Regions from separate parts of the Homo sapiens genome. Here region 2 is linked to region 1. Evidence: promoter capture Hi-C in 16 types of primary human blood cells and fetal thymus (Javierre and others, 2016). All regions are on one chromosome and are shown on one strand. The core of a region is centred on a gene start or on the middle of the fragment in contact, and the rest is flanking DNA. Distances in the headings are between cores, read along the strand shown. Region 1 has its middle 4.1 kb from the start of MAP7D3. Region 2 holds the start of SLC9A6 (solute carrier family 9 member A6).

Evidence for each region. Contacts are between HindIII fragments. The CHiCAGO score rates a contact against its expected background, and 5 or more counts as called.
Region 2: a contact is called between the fragment with the promoter of SLC9A6 here and a fragment that was not itself captured in region 1, in 2 of 17 cell types (fetal thymus and naive B cells). The highest score is 6.7, in fetal thymus.

The regions. Positions count from the first base shown.
Region 1 is chrX:136,252,594-136,258,415 of GRCh38, reverse strand. It overlaps a transcript of MAP7D3 not described here. Among named protein-coding and RNA genes, the nearest start is that of MAP7D3, 4.1 kb to the right of the region's middle. The HindIII fragment of the contact is 2,470 bases long and covers 2,376-4,845 here.
Region 2 is chrX:135,981,083-135,987,311 of GRCh38, reverse strand. SLC9A6 (solute carrier family 9 member A6) reads right to left here and starts at 1,877. Exons shown (of 18, transcript NM_001379110.1): 1 at 1,835-1,877; 2 at 1,485-1,709. The coding sequence starts at 1,653. RefSeq lists an enhancer at 1,477-1,596 and a silencer at 1,747-1,986. The HindIII fragment of the contact is 4,728 bases long and covers 339-5,066 here.

The DNA.
Region 1 (5,822 bases), core at 2,361-4,860:
GTCATGGTGCTACCTTGGCTTTCAATGTAACCCAGGGCAAAGCATCTGCCTGCTCTGAGTTAAAAAAAATATATGTATATATACACACACATATACGTATACATATACATATATATACATATATATATTCCACAATGTACACAATACTAGATCTGTATTAGAATCTCTAATATTTTCCATTATCAAAGTGTAATGGTATTAAATACTCAGCAGTAATTGTCATCACACAAGACATTGTTCAGTATACTCAGGAATGGATGTCATATAAATAATAACACTTATAGAATCAGAAACTCTGGGAATGGGGCCCAGAAATCTATGTTAACTCCTATTTTCTTCTCATTTTTTCCTATCTGGATTTTACCAATTTTTAGCTCTATTAGAAATTCCAAAGTGTCTTTAAAGGGCATCCCTTGATACTTTCTGCTTTTTGGCATCCTCTGAAGCTTCCCTTATATTGCAGGCCTGTATTTGGAATGAGGAGGCACAGCCCATGTTTGCTGTACTTTATTTGAAGTCAAGAAAAAAAAATGAGGACATTTTCTTGCCCTTTAATAATTTTAAGTCTAGATCTTTTCAACACTGGGGTGGCCATCCAAAGCATTTTCATTTCTTCCTCCTTCAGTACCCAGGGGGCTTCTAGTACTCTCTTTTATTCATTCCATAAATATTCTTTACAGGATACACAGCATGATAAATGTGGCACATCTTCCTTTATACATGTATTTTGAAATCAGTCCCATGTACTCAGCATTTATTGACTCTTCTGAGCCTTTCTAGAAGGAAGCCTGCTTAAAAGGAGTCATATCTATCTCCCTTGCAAGATATACATTAAACACCCATTTTTTTTAATCTGTATAACTTTAAGGGGTACAAGTGCAGTTTTGTAGTGGTGAAGTGTCTGGGCTTTTATTGTAACCATCAACTAAACACCCATTTTCAATGCTTTCTTCTTCAATAGTTTGAGTCGATTTCATTAGAGGCTTAACAGACAGCTGTACCAACACTCATGTTAGGAGATGTAGTTGTGGGAGACCTTACCAATTAGAAAGTGTAACTTTCAAAAGGCTCTGTAGCCAGAGTGTGAGGATTGGATCAAGGAAGAAGTGGAAGACAAGGGTGAGGAATTAATAGTGTCCAAGGGCTTGTCAACTGGAAATTGGGAGGAACCAGGCACAGTGACTCACACCTGTAATCCCAGCAACTTGGGAGGGCAAGGCGGGTGGATCATTTGAGGTAAGGAGTTTGACCAGCCTGGGCAACATGGTGAAACCCCGTCTCTATGAAAAATACCAAAAAAAAAAAAAAAAAATTGGGTGTGGTGGGGCACGCATGTAGTCCCAGCTACTGAGGAGGCTGAGGCAAGACAATCGCTTGAAGTCGGGAGATGCAGGTTGCAGTGAGCCACGATTGCACCACTGCACTCCAGCCTGGGTGACAGAGCGAGACTCCATCTCAGAAAATAAAGGAAAAAGAAATTGGGAGGCCCAGTGGAAGGCGGACGAGCTCTGGAGTCAGATACATGTGGGCTTGAATCTCAACTCTGCGACTTCCCATCTGGGCAGGTTAGTTAACCTCCCTGGGCCTGCTTCCTCATCTGTAAAATGAGGATGGGAATAGAAGCTAGCTCATAAAGTTGTGGTGAAGATTACACGAAATAATCCATGTCGACCCTTTTGCACTGGGCCTCCCACTGAGTAGGCAACCGGCAAATGATGGCTCTTACTATCAACCAGGCAGTTTCCTCGGCTTATGTACTACTCCAAGCAAATTGCCCCCACTGCCACACCCTTCCTCTCTGAGGTTCGTCTACATTCCCACTTTGGAGGGAAATGGCAGTGGGAGCCTCTTTTTCCTCTCCTCAGAAGTTCACTGCCCCCTCCCTGGTGAGCTCAGGCTATGAAAATCAGCGCCTCCACCCCAGGGAAGACCTAAAAGGAAATGGTACAGAGCAGCCTGTTGAAATTAGACAGCAGGGTCACCCTGGTCCTCTGTGCCACAGGAAGGAGGGGTACTGAAGTGTCAGTTGTTGGTGGGGGAGCAGTGCTGCAGTGGGAATTCCAGAGCTGAGAAGGCTGCCATCAACCAAGTGAGACATGACCAGCCCCCGAGGTAAGTCTGTAACTTAGGAGGGAAGAAAGCGCAGATGTGGGAAAAGGAAGGAAAATGTGAGTAGATTTGGCAAGAGATGAGTCCAGAAGGAAACATCACTCTTCCCGGGCATCACAGTCAAGCTACAACAGATGCAGGACAAGAGTGAGCGACGAGAGGAGAAAGAACACAAAACCAGAGCCTTGTCTCAACTGTGTATATGACAAGGAATCTAACAGGTCGTTAAGAATGGAGAGAAAAAGCCATCGCATGGCTGGTAAGCTTAAAACTCATAGTACAGGACTGTGGTGGTGGCAGTTTGCATGCAAATTCGCTAGATTGGTAAGCTCACTAAATGTTTATTATATGTAAGTTCAATTTTTTAAAAAACTTCATCTTTTAATAGAAACAAATGTGGCAATTTCTAGACCTGTTATGACTGTGGTTTCTGAATGTTTTTCCCAAGGGTGTAAGGTTTAAGGGGAAAAAATAGCCTAGAAGGAAGAAAAAGCGAGCAGGATTCCAGTTCTTCTCTGCTCGCTGGGGAACACATGCTTTCCAAATACGGGGAGGAGAGGAGAGGAGAGGAGCCGCCTGGGTTCTTTCCCAGCTCTGAGTCTGTTTTGGCTCCAGAATAAACTCCACTGTCCCCAAGCTGATAGCTTTCAGTTCCAATATTTTTTTCTCAGAAATGTACAGTCTCGTGGGAGCTCCTTGGTGAGCTTCTGTAGCCCCAAGGAAACATCTAAAGGGACCCTGATGTAAGTCATTAGTTTAGAGTCAATGAGATTGGGGACCCTAGAGGGCAGGGCTTCCTTCCATATGTATTTGTCCCCACACTGCTAGTCACAGAGTAGGTGGTTAATAAAAGATTAATTGAATAATTTACCTACTAAATGAATACTAAATCTCACAGTAATCTACCAATGATGTTAGAGAGAAAGAAGTTATATCTACAGATTAAAAGGCATATCAAATAATGCAATGTATGGACCTTGTTTGAATTTTTATTCAAAGATTTTTTAAATGAGGCAATTTGGAAATTTGAACACTGCCCTGCACCATGTTTTTTCTTTTTTTATTTGCTTTTTTTTGTTTGTTTGTTTTTGAGACAGAGTTTTGCTCTTGTTGCCCAGGCTGGAGTGCAATAGCACGATCTCAGCTCACCACAACCTCGGCCTCCCAGGTTCAAGTGATCCTCCTGCCTCCGCCTCCTAGTACCTAGGATTACAGGCGCGTGCCACCACGCCCAGCTAATTTTTGTATTTTTTAGTAGAGATGGAGCTTCACCATGTTGGCCAGGCTGGTCTGGGAATCCTGACCTCAGGTGATCTGCTCGCATTGGCCTTCCAAAGTGCTGGGATTACAGGTGTGAGCCACCGCACCCAGCCGTTTTTTTTGTTTGTTTGTTTTTGTTGTTTGTTTGTTTTTGTTTTTGTTTTTACTTTTAATGTCATCATTTAAAAATAGATTTTACATTAAGATCCAGATTTCGAGTTTATTTTGAAAAGTGGGAATATCTGGCCACAGATGGGCCCATCTGCCCACTCAGCGACCATGGGCTGGAATTAAGACGTGGTTACTCGCTTTTGGAGGTGGTTCCCACAGTCCCCATCTCAGGCCCAGAATAAGTGCTAATTCTTCCACAAAGACTTCTCTGATCACTCCAAACAGGACTGATTTCTCATCCCTTAGCCCTTGGAAGCCGTTTCAGTTACTCGCCTAAATCCTACTCATGCCACCTGTATGTGGTTATTCCTGGATGTCTTATCTCCCCTCTTCCTCCTACACCCTGGCTGGACTGAGGCCTTTAGAGGCTCTAAACACTGAAAAGACTAGTAGGGTGCCTCCCCATGTGTAATTCCCAATCAAATTTTATTTTTCAAAGTGACAGTGTTTACAAATAAGTTGAAGACAAACTTCTAGATTGAAAAAAACTCGGCTGGGCGCAGTGGTTCACATCTGTAATCCCAGCACTCTGGGATGCCAAGGAGGGTGAATCACTTGACCTCAGGAGTTGGAGACTAGACTGGTCAACATGGCAAAACCCCGTCTCTACTAAAAATACAAAAATTAGCCGGGCGTGGGGGTGCAGGTCTGTAATTCCTGCTACTTGGGAGGCTGAGGCAGGAGAATCGCTTGAACCCAGGAGGCGGAGGTTGCAGTGAGCCAGGACTGTACCACTGCACTCCAGCCTGGGTGATAGAGTGAGACTCCATCTCAAAAAATAAAGAAAAAATTATCTAACTTCTTATTTGGAAAAACCTCAAATCTTTACCCCTACATTCTTCAATATTTATGTCTTTTTTTGTGTTCGTGAGACAAAGTCTCATTCTGTCTCCCAGGCTGGAGTGCAGCAGGCAATCTCAGCTCACTGCAACCTCCGCCTCCTGGGTTCAAGCGATTCTCTTGCCTTAGCCTCCCGAGTAGCTGGAATTACAGGCATGTGCCACTACACCCAGGTAATTTTTGGGTTTTTGTCTTGTGTTTTTATTTTTTTCTAGAGATGGTGTTTCGCCATGTTGGGCCAGGCTGGTCTGGAACTCCTGAGCTCAAGCAATGTGCCGGCCTCAGCCTCCCAAAGTGCTGGGATTACAGGCGTGACTATTTATTTCTTAAGAAGAAGTGCATTTTCCTAGGTGACTACAACATCATTCCCACACCCAAGAAATTTGACCTTGATACAATATCATGTACCATACAGTTCATATTCAAATTTTCTAATTATGCCAGTAACGTATGCCCTTTCAAGCTTCTTTTAAAAATTAGGGTTGTAATCAAGGATCATACATTGCATGTGGTCTCTTTAGCCTCCTGTGATCTGGAACACTTCTCTGATTTTTGTTGTTAGTCTTTCATGACACTAATATTTTGAAGCATTGGGGCCAGTTATTTTGTGGACTATATCACAGTCTCTATCTCTGTCTGAATGTTTCTTCATTATTAGATTTGGGTTCAACATTTTTGCAAGAAACTACAAAGCTGATGTGTTTTGCTAAATTTTCTGTTTGCGGAGTTCCAGATAAGGTCATGAAAGCTGAACTTGTGTTTGTGTATGTGTGTGTGTTTTGTGGGCACCCTAATCATATGTGTGTCGTATTAATAATCATGAATGGCTACCATCCTGGATATCATGCAAAGCATTGGTCTCTGTATTTACTTAGAAGCAGAGCTTCGGGAGTTATAATGCCAAACTGTTTATTTTTGCCACTAGTTTTTTTTTTCTTCGAGACAGAGTCTCGCTCTGTTGCCCAGGCTGGAGTGCAGTGGCAGCTCTCGGCTCACTGCAACCTCCACCTCCCGGGTTCAAGCGATTCTCCTGCCTCAGCCTCCCGAGCAGCTGGGATTACAGGGGCCCGCCACGACGCCCAGCTAATTTTTGTATTTTTACTAGAGACGGGGTTTCCCCATGCTGGCCAGGCTGATCTTGAACTCCTGACTTCAGGTTATCCACCTGCCTGGGCCTCCCAAAGTGCTGGGGCTGGGATTACAGGTGTGAACCACCGTGCCTGGCCCCCCACTTGTATTAATCTACATCATCGCAAACACTTATTGACCACGTTTTAATTTTTGTTAAAATTGTAGGTGCAACGTAATGTCTTTTTTTTCTTTTTCTTTTCTTTTCTTTTTTTTTTTTTTTTTTTTTTTGAGACAGAGTCTCGCTCTGTCACCCAGGCTGGAGTGCAGTGGTGCTATCATGGCTCACTGCAAACTCCACCTCCCGGGTTCAA
Region 2 (6,229 bases), core at 628-3,127, 270 kb after region 1:
GTAAATAAATCACACACTGTTATGCAGAAAATTATATAGAAATATATAGCTTATCTGGCCAATTTGGCTTAAGGTGCACTGCAAATGAAATGCAAAACATATTAAATATAAAAACCATCTAATATGTCTAAAAACTAGGAATCTTAGTGAGCAGAGATATTTTACACGCAGGCTCAGAACTGTATTCTCTTAAAAATGAAAAATAAGCCTGAGTTCATGCATCTTCCTGAGGCACACAACTACCTTTCCTTGCTATCCTTGAGAGATGCACATTACAGAAGTCTGGATTTACTAGGGGGCGGGGGTTTGCATGGAGCAATGTCTTTTGTGCCAAAGCTTCATCTACCTATCTGCAAGTCTGAGAGACAAACCTCAACAAGCTCATCGGTTTAACTGCTCCAAATGAAGATAATCTTCACACATGTACTGCACAGAAAGAATTGTTTGTCCGCCCTCATCTCTTTAGCAATACCCGCACAGATTAATACAGTCGGCAATATGTATCTTTTCTCCTCTTGAGGCCCCAGCACAGCTCAAAATGCCTCTGAGCCCACACTTTGATTTACCCCTTCTCGCCTTGTCACCAAAATAATAATAATAATAATAATAATAAACCTCAGAAAGCAGACTGAGACACAAGAATCGAAGCCATTTATTCTACAATCGGTCAATAACCTCATGCCAACAGCAAGTCACCCATACTGCATATGCATGGTGTTTGTAATTACTGTTTGTCTGAACTGTCCTGATCATCGTATAGTACACTATACTTCTGGAAGGACCTTAACTCTTCCTCGTCCTCACTTTTGTATGCCTGAATTGGAAGGGTCAACCACAGGTATCCATATCAGATATTAGAGGCATAGTACAATAAATGGGATGTCATTAAAAATGCCCTAAGCCTTCTGTAGCCTATTTCACGTTCGGGTTTTTTTTTTCGGACTCCACAAGAATAAGATTTTCCTTTGCAACCTCGAAAGGACAGGGCGTAGCAGGAGCTAGGTGTTGAGTAAAGGTCGACTCTGGCTCCAAAAGAACGCCAGATTCTGGGCAGTAGAGATACTACTGCAGTTTCAATGAACCTTAAACAAACTGACACCCCAGAGAAATGGATCGCAATGGTGTCTCCCCTCCCCCAGCCCCCAGCCCAATTCCAGACACCGCGCCCACTCGTTTTCCATCCTCAGCCCCGGGTCCCGAGCTTGGTAGGCAGGGAAAGGGTGGGGGGCTGGGGGTGCGGAGGAAAAAGGGGGTGGGGTCGGAAGCGAAAAAGGTGTGGAGAGGCAGATAAAATGGGGCGCGAGGCTGAAGAGGAAAGGGGGTGAGGCAGAGAAACGCGGGGTAGGGGGAAGGCGAGGCAGAAAATGGAAGGAATTAGAAGGGGAGCCGAACGTAGGCCGAGCAGGGCCAGCAGAGGAGGCGAAGCAGCCGGCGGGCAGAGAAAGGGGCAGCGCCAAGGGGCTGACAAGGGTTGAGGAACTTGCCATAAATCATAGCCAGGCCGGTTTCGTGCAGGAAGCGGGCCCGGCGGTGCTTGAAGAGCCAGATTGTGAGAATGGTGAGGGTGAGCAGCAGGATGAAGATGAGCAGGTTGGCGCTGTCCTGCCGGTGGCTCTCCTCGGCTTGCTTCTCGGACACGATCTCCTCGTCCATGGCTCTAGCCTCTCCGCCGCCGCCGTCCGAAGCCCCTGCCCAGTCAAAGACGCCCACTGCGAGGAGCAACCAAAGGGGCCGCATGAGCCTGCGGGCTCGGGGACTGCTGCCGACGCCACGGCGGAGGGGTGCCCGCCGCCAGCCGCGCCGAGCCATGTCTCCCCCCGCCTCCCGCCCCTACCTCACCGGCGGCCGCCCGCGGTCGGACCACTCCCCGAGGGCTCACGGGAAAGGGGCGGGGCCCGGGGGTAGCCGTCGGAGCGCGCGCCGCCGCCGCCGCTCTTAAAGGGGCCGCGGCATCCCAAGCTCGCTCTGCCAGGTTCCTTTGCCCCTCTGTCCCAGGTCACACGCACCCACAGGCGCTGCCGGGAATGAAAGGCCGTCTAAACTAGCCCACTGCCTTTGGCTAAAGAAACATCGGCTCAGTGTAACCAAGCAGAGGCAGACTGCGCTTTCTACTTTGATCCTATTCTCAGAGCTCTCAGGGGAATTGATCTTTCATAGGAATTGATCTTTCATAACCCATCTCAATATCGTCCCCCAGTGTCTCTTAACAGGATAAGTTGTCCCCTTGGGAGGAGCCTCAATCTCCATCTCTGTAATTTAAATTTAAATCGGATTCTCCTTGTATTGTCCTCATCGGGAAAGAAAAAAAAAAAAACACAAAAAAACACCACACACACACAGAGCACTGTAGCAGTTCATAAAACAATCGACTCAAAGGTATGGATTATGTGTGTGTCTGTGTAGTCGGTTTTCTTTACATGTAAACATCTGATATAAGTCATCTCTCACGCTAGGAATCTGTACACAGAAACTCATCAACCTTACAGCAAAGATTGGATCGGTTTGTGCTTAGATTTCCCAATGCTCGTAAACACTTCCCTCCCGAAGAAAAAATCTTGGGTGGTGTGGTGGATTTCTCCTTCTCCTCTTGCTCCTTTTTACTGCTGTTTTAAAGCAAATGTCCCCAGCTCCGAAGTCACCCTTGACCCCTATCTCTCATCTCTCCTCTTTAGTATTCCTCAGGACAGTATTTTTTTTCTGTTCTCAGCCTGTCCAACCTCTCTCACCAGAATTTTCACAGTTCTCACCTCCATACTGGAGCTTTGTCTTTTGAGAACAGTGACTTCCTATTTTTTCTGTATTTCTCCGATCGCTCCTTAGTTTGTGTGGGCTCTTTGTTTTCTCAAGACTTTGATTTCAACATGAATGATCTACAAGTCTCAAGCCCTGGCCTGCTGCCCCAACTTCAGGCCTCTACCTGTTGGATTCTGAGCATACCCTGTTGAGGCTCCTACCACCCTCAAAACTAAAAATATTTTGAAATGAGCTCATTTGAAATGAGTTCCCCCTGCAAGTACAAATTCCTTCTCAAATTCTTCATACCATCAGTGGTACCACTGTCAGTTCAATTCCTATCATTCTGCCTGGAACTCATGATTCTCAAATGGTTCTTTCCATCTCATGGCCATATAACCTCCTTGCTAAAACAAGTAATACTCAGGCAACTCCAAGCTGCCCCTGTGTGTATTCACCCTCACTAACCAGCTCTCTAAGCTCTCAGGATGATGAGCTAAACAAAAAAAGCACTCAAACGATGTCCAATTCCACTTTCTGTCCCTGTCAGGTCAGGAACTGTCCCAAATCAGAGCCAGTGACTGTGTGCCCATTCTCTGCTATTAGTACTTGGGTCTGTGTCTTCCCAAGAAACCTCATGGCTGCCTGTTCCCCTATACCCTGACTCCACTTGAACCACACTGTCCTGTTCACACAGAGCTGGGCTTTGTGGAAGCAAGAAACCTAGGTGAGGATCCTTCCCATTCTCCCCATCATCCTCTCCCCAGAAGACCTAGTAAATGAGCTTACCTGCTAACTGCTCATTCCAAGGCTGTTTTGTCCCAGCATAAACCCACTTTTCACTGAGTGTTGGGAACTTGAAAAAAAAAAAAAAAAACCCGAAGCCACAGATTGCTTCCCTGACCAGAGTCAGGAAATGTCTTCAAGCACCAGACTCCACCTCTGTTTATGTGGCCCCAGCAACTTAGTATGCCCCTCAGCAATCTCTTTGTACTCGAGTTCTAGGAGGAATCTTGAAATGGTAGTAACTTCTACCAGGCAGCCAATCCCCCTGAGGCTTCTGCTCCCCCGAGAATGTACTTCTCTCTCCATCCAGCACTGCTCTATACTTCTGACGCCTACACCCGGGTTTCTCCTCTTGCTACTTCCCTCCCTTTCCATGTTAGTCGGTGTGCTCCTTGGAACGTTCTTCCTTGTAAACATACTACTCAACCCTCTCAGTCACTGCATGGATGGCCCCTCCATCTCCTCTCATTACCAGAACCCATGTCTCTCCCAGGATATCACACGCTCTGACGCTATTGCAAGTGGAGGTTGTTCATGTTCATTTGGTCACAGCCCCACTGTCCTGCACACATATACACACGTATACACAACTCACACCCTGCATCAGGTGGCCTGAAGGAGTTGGCACTGTGCTCACTCCCATTGTTTCACATTGTTTCAAACTCATTACCCCTCCACCCTCCATTGAAGCTCTAACACCTTCTCCTTCCCCATGGTCCTCACTTATTGACTTCCTGGTCACTCCTACACATTTGCTGAGTACTAGGGAATCTGTTTCACAGGCTTCCTCTCTCCTCTCACCCCACTCCCCAGGCCTGACATCATCCTGAGTGACTTCACTGCTCATATAGACAACTCACCAGGAATCCAGCCTTGCTTCTTTTGTCACTGAGAAAGTCAAGGCATTCTGGGAAAATCCTACCCTGCTATCTACTTAAATATCCCATCAGTGCCCATCCTTTCTTTCTCCCCCCAGCCACAGTGGAAGAAGTGTTTCCTTCTCCCTTAAGAAGCTAATTGGCCAGGCATGGTGGCTTACGCCTTTGATCTCAGCAATTTGGGAGGCCAAGGCGGGAGAATCACTTGAGCCCAGGAGTTCAAGACCAGCCTGGGCAACATAGTGAAACCCTGTCTCTACAAAATTAACAGAAATTAGCCGGGCATGGTGGCGCGTGCCTGTAGCACCAGCTACTGAGGAGGCTGAGGAAGGAAAAGGGCTTGAGTCCAGGAGATGGAGGTTGCAGTGAGCTGATATTGGGCCAGACTGGGTGACAGAGTGAGACTTTGTCTCAAAAAAAAAAAAAAAGCGAATTGACCAAACTGTACTCTGCATGTCATCACTTCCTTTCCTCTTCTTCCAGGATCTACTCCAACAATCACCGCCCCCCCCAACCCCCGCCCTCCACCTCCACCATCTTCAGTGGCTCCTTCTCTATCATCTCTTTCTGCTCTCCATGAACATTTTCAGGTCTCCTCTGAGAAACACCTTTTCATCCACACCCCTCCAGCTACTGTACTATCTCTCCTTTCCTCTTCATAGATAAGCTTCTCAAAGGAATTGTCTGCATTCTCTGCACTCCCATCCAGGGAGTGCAGGGATAGTCCAGGGATTATCAAAAATCAGACTACAGTCTGAGGGCCAAATCCAGCCTGCTATCTGTTTTTGTATGTCTTGAAACTAAGAATGTTTTTCACGTTTTAAGGGCTGAGAAAAAAAGAATTAAAGAATATTTTGTGACATGTGAAAGTGATATGAAATTCAAATTTCTGTGTCCATCAATAATGGTTTATTGGACATGGCCATGTCCATTCCTTTACTTATTGTCTATGGCTGCTTTAGCACTACAAGGGCAGAGTTGAGCAGTTGCAAAAGAGACTGTGGATTGCAAAGTTTACATATATACTATCTGGCCCTTTGCCAGAAAGATATGCTGACCTCTTCTTTAGTCTCTGCCAATCATTCCTCTACACTTTCATAAGGGGGTGTTTCTGGAACACAAATCCTCTAATGCCCCCTGCCTTGCTTTTGGCTCTGGCTCCTTAGCCTGGCACCCAATGCTCCACACACCCTGCCTCCAGACTGTCTCTTCACCCTTATATCCTGTGCTTATTTCCCAAATATATTTTGCTTCAGCCATTCTGAACTTCTAGTTCCTTGAATGCTTCATGTGGTTTCCTGCCGTCTATGTGCCTTTCCATGTGTTCCTTCTACTTGGATAGTCCTCAACTTTTTCCTCACCTAACTAACTTCTACTTGTCTGACGAAACTCAGATTAAAGATCACCAAATTTTCCAGGATGCCCTCAGGCTGAGTTAGGAGCCTGATATGGTTTGGCTCTGTCTCCCCATCCAAATCTCATGTCAAATTGTCATCCCCACCTGTTGGGGGAGGGACCTGGTGGGAGGTGATTGGATCATGGGGACAGTTTCCCCCATGCTGTTCTTGTGATAGTGAGTGCGTTCTCAGGATATCTGAGGGTTTAAAAGTGTGTGGCGTTTCCCCCTCGCTTTTTGTTTCCTGCTGCCATAAGAAGACACTCCTTGCTTCCTCTTTGCCTTCCACCATGATCGCAAGTTTCCTGAGATCCTCCTCCCCAAGTCATGCTTCCTGTACAGCCTGCAGAACTGTGAGTCAATTAAACCTCTTTTCTTCATAAATTACCCAGTCTTCAGGTAGTTCGTTATAGCAGTGTGAGAACAGACTAATACA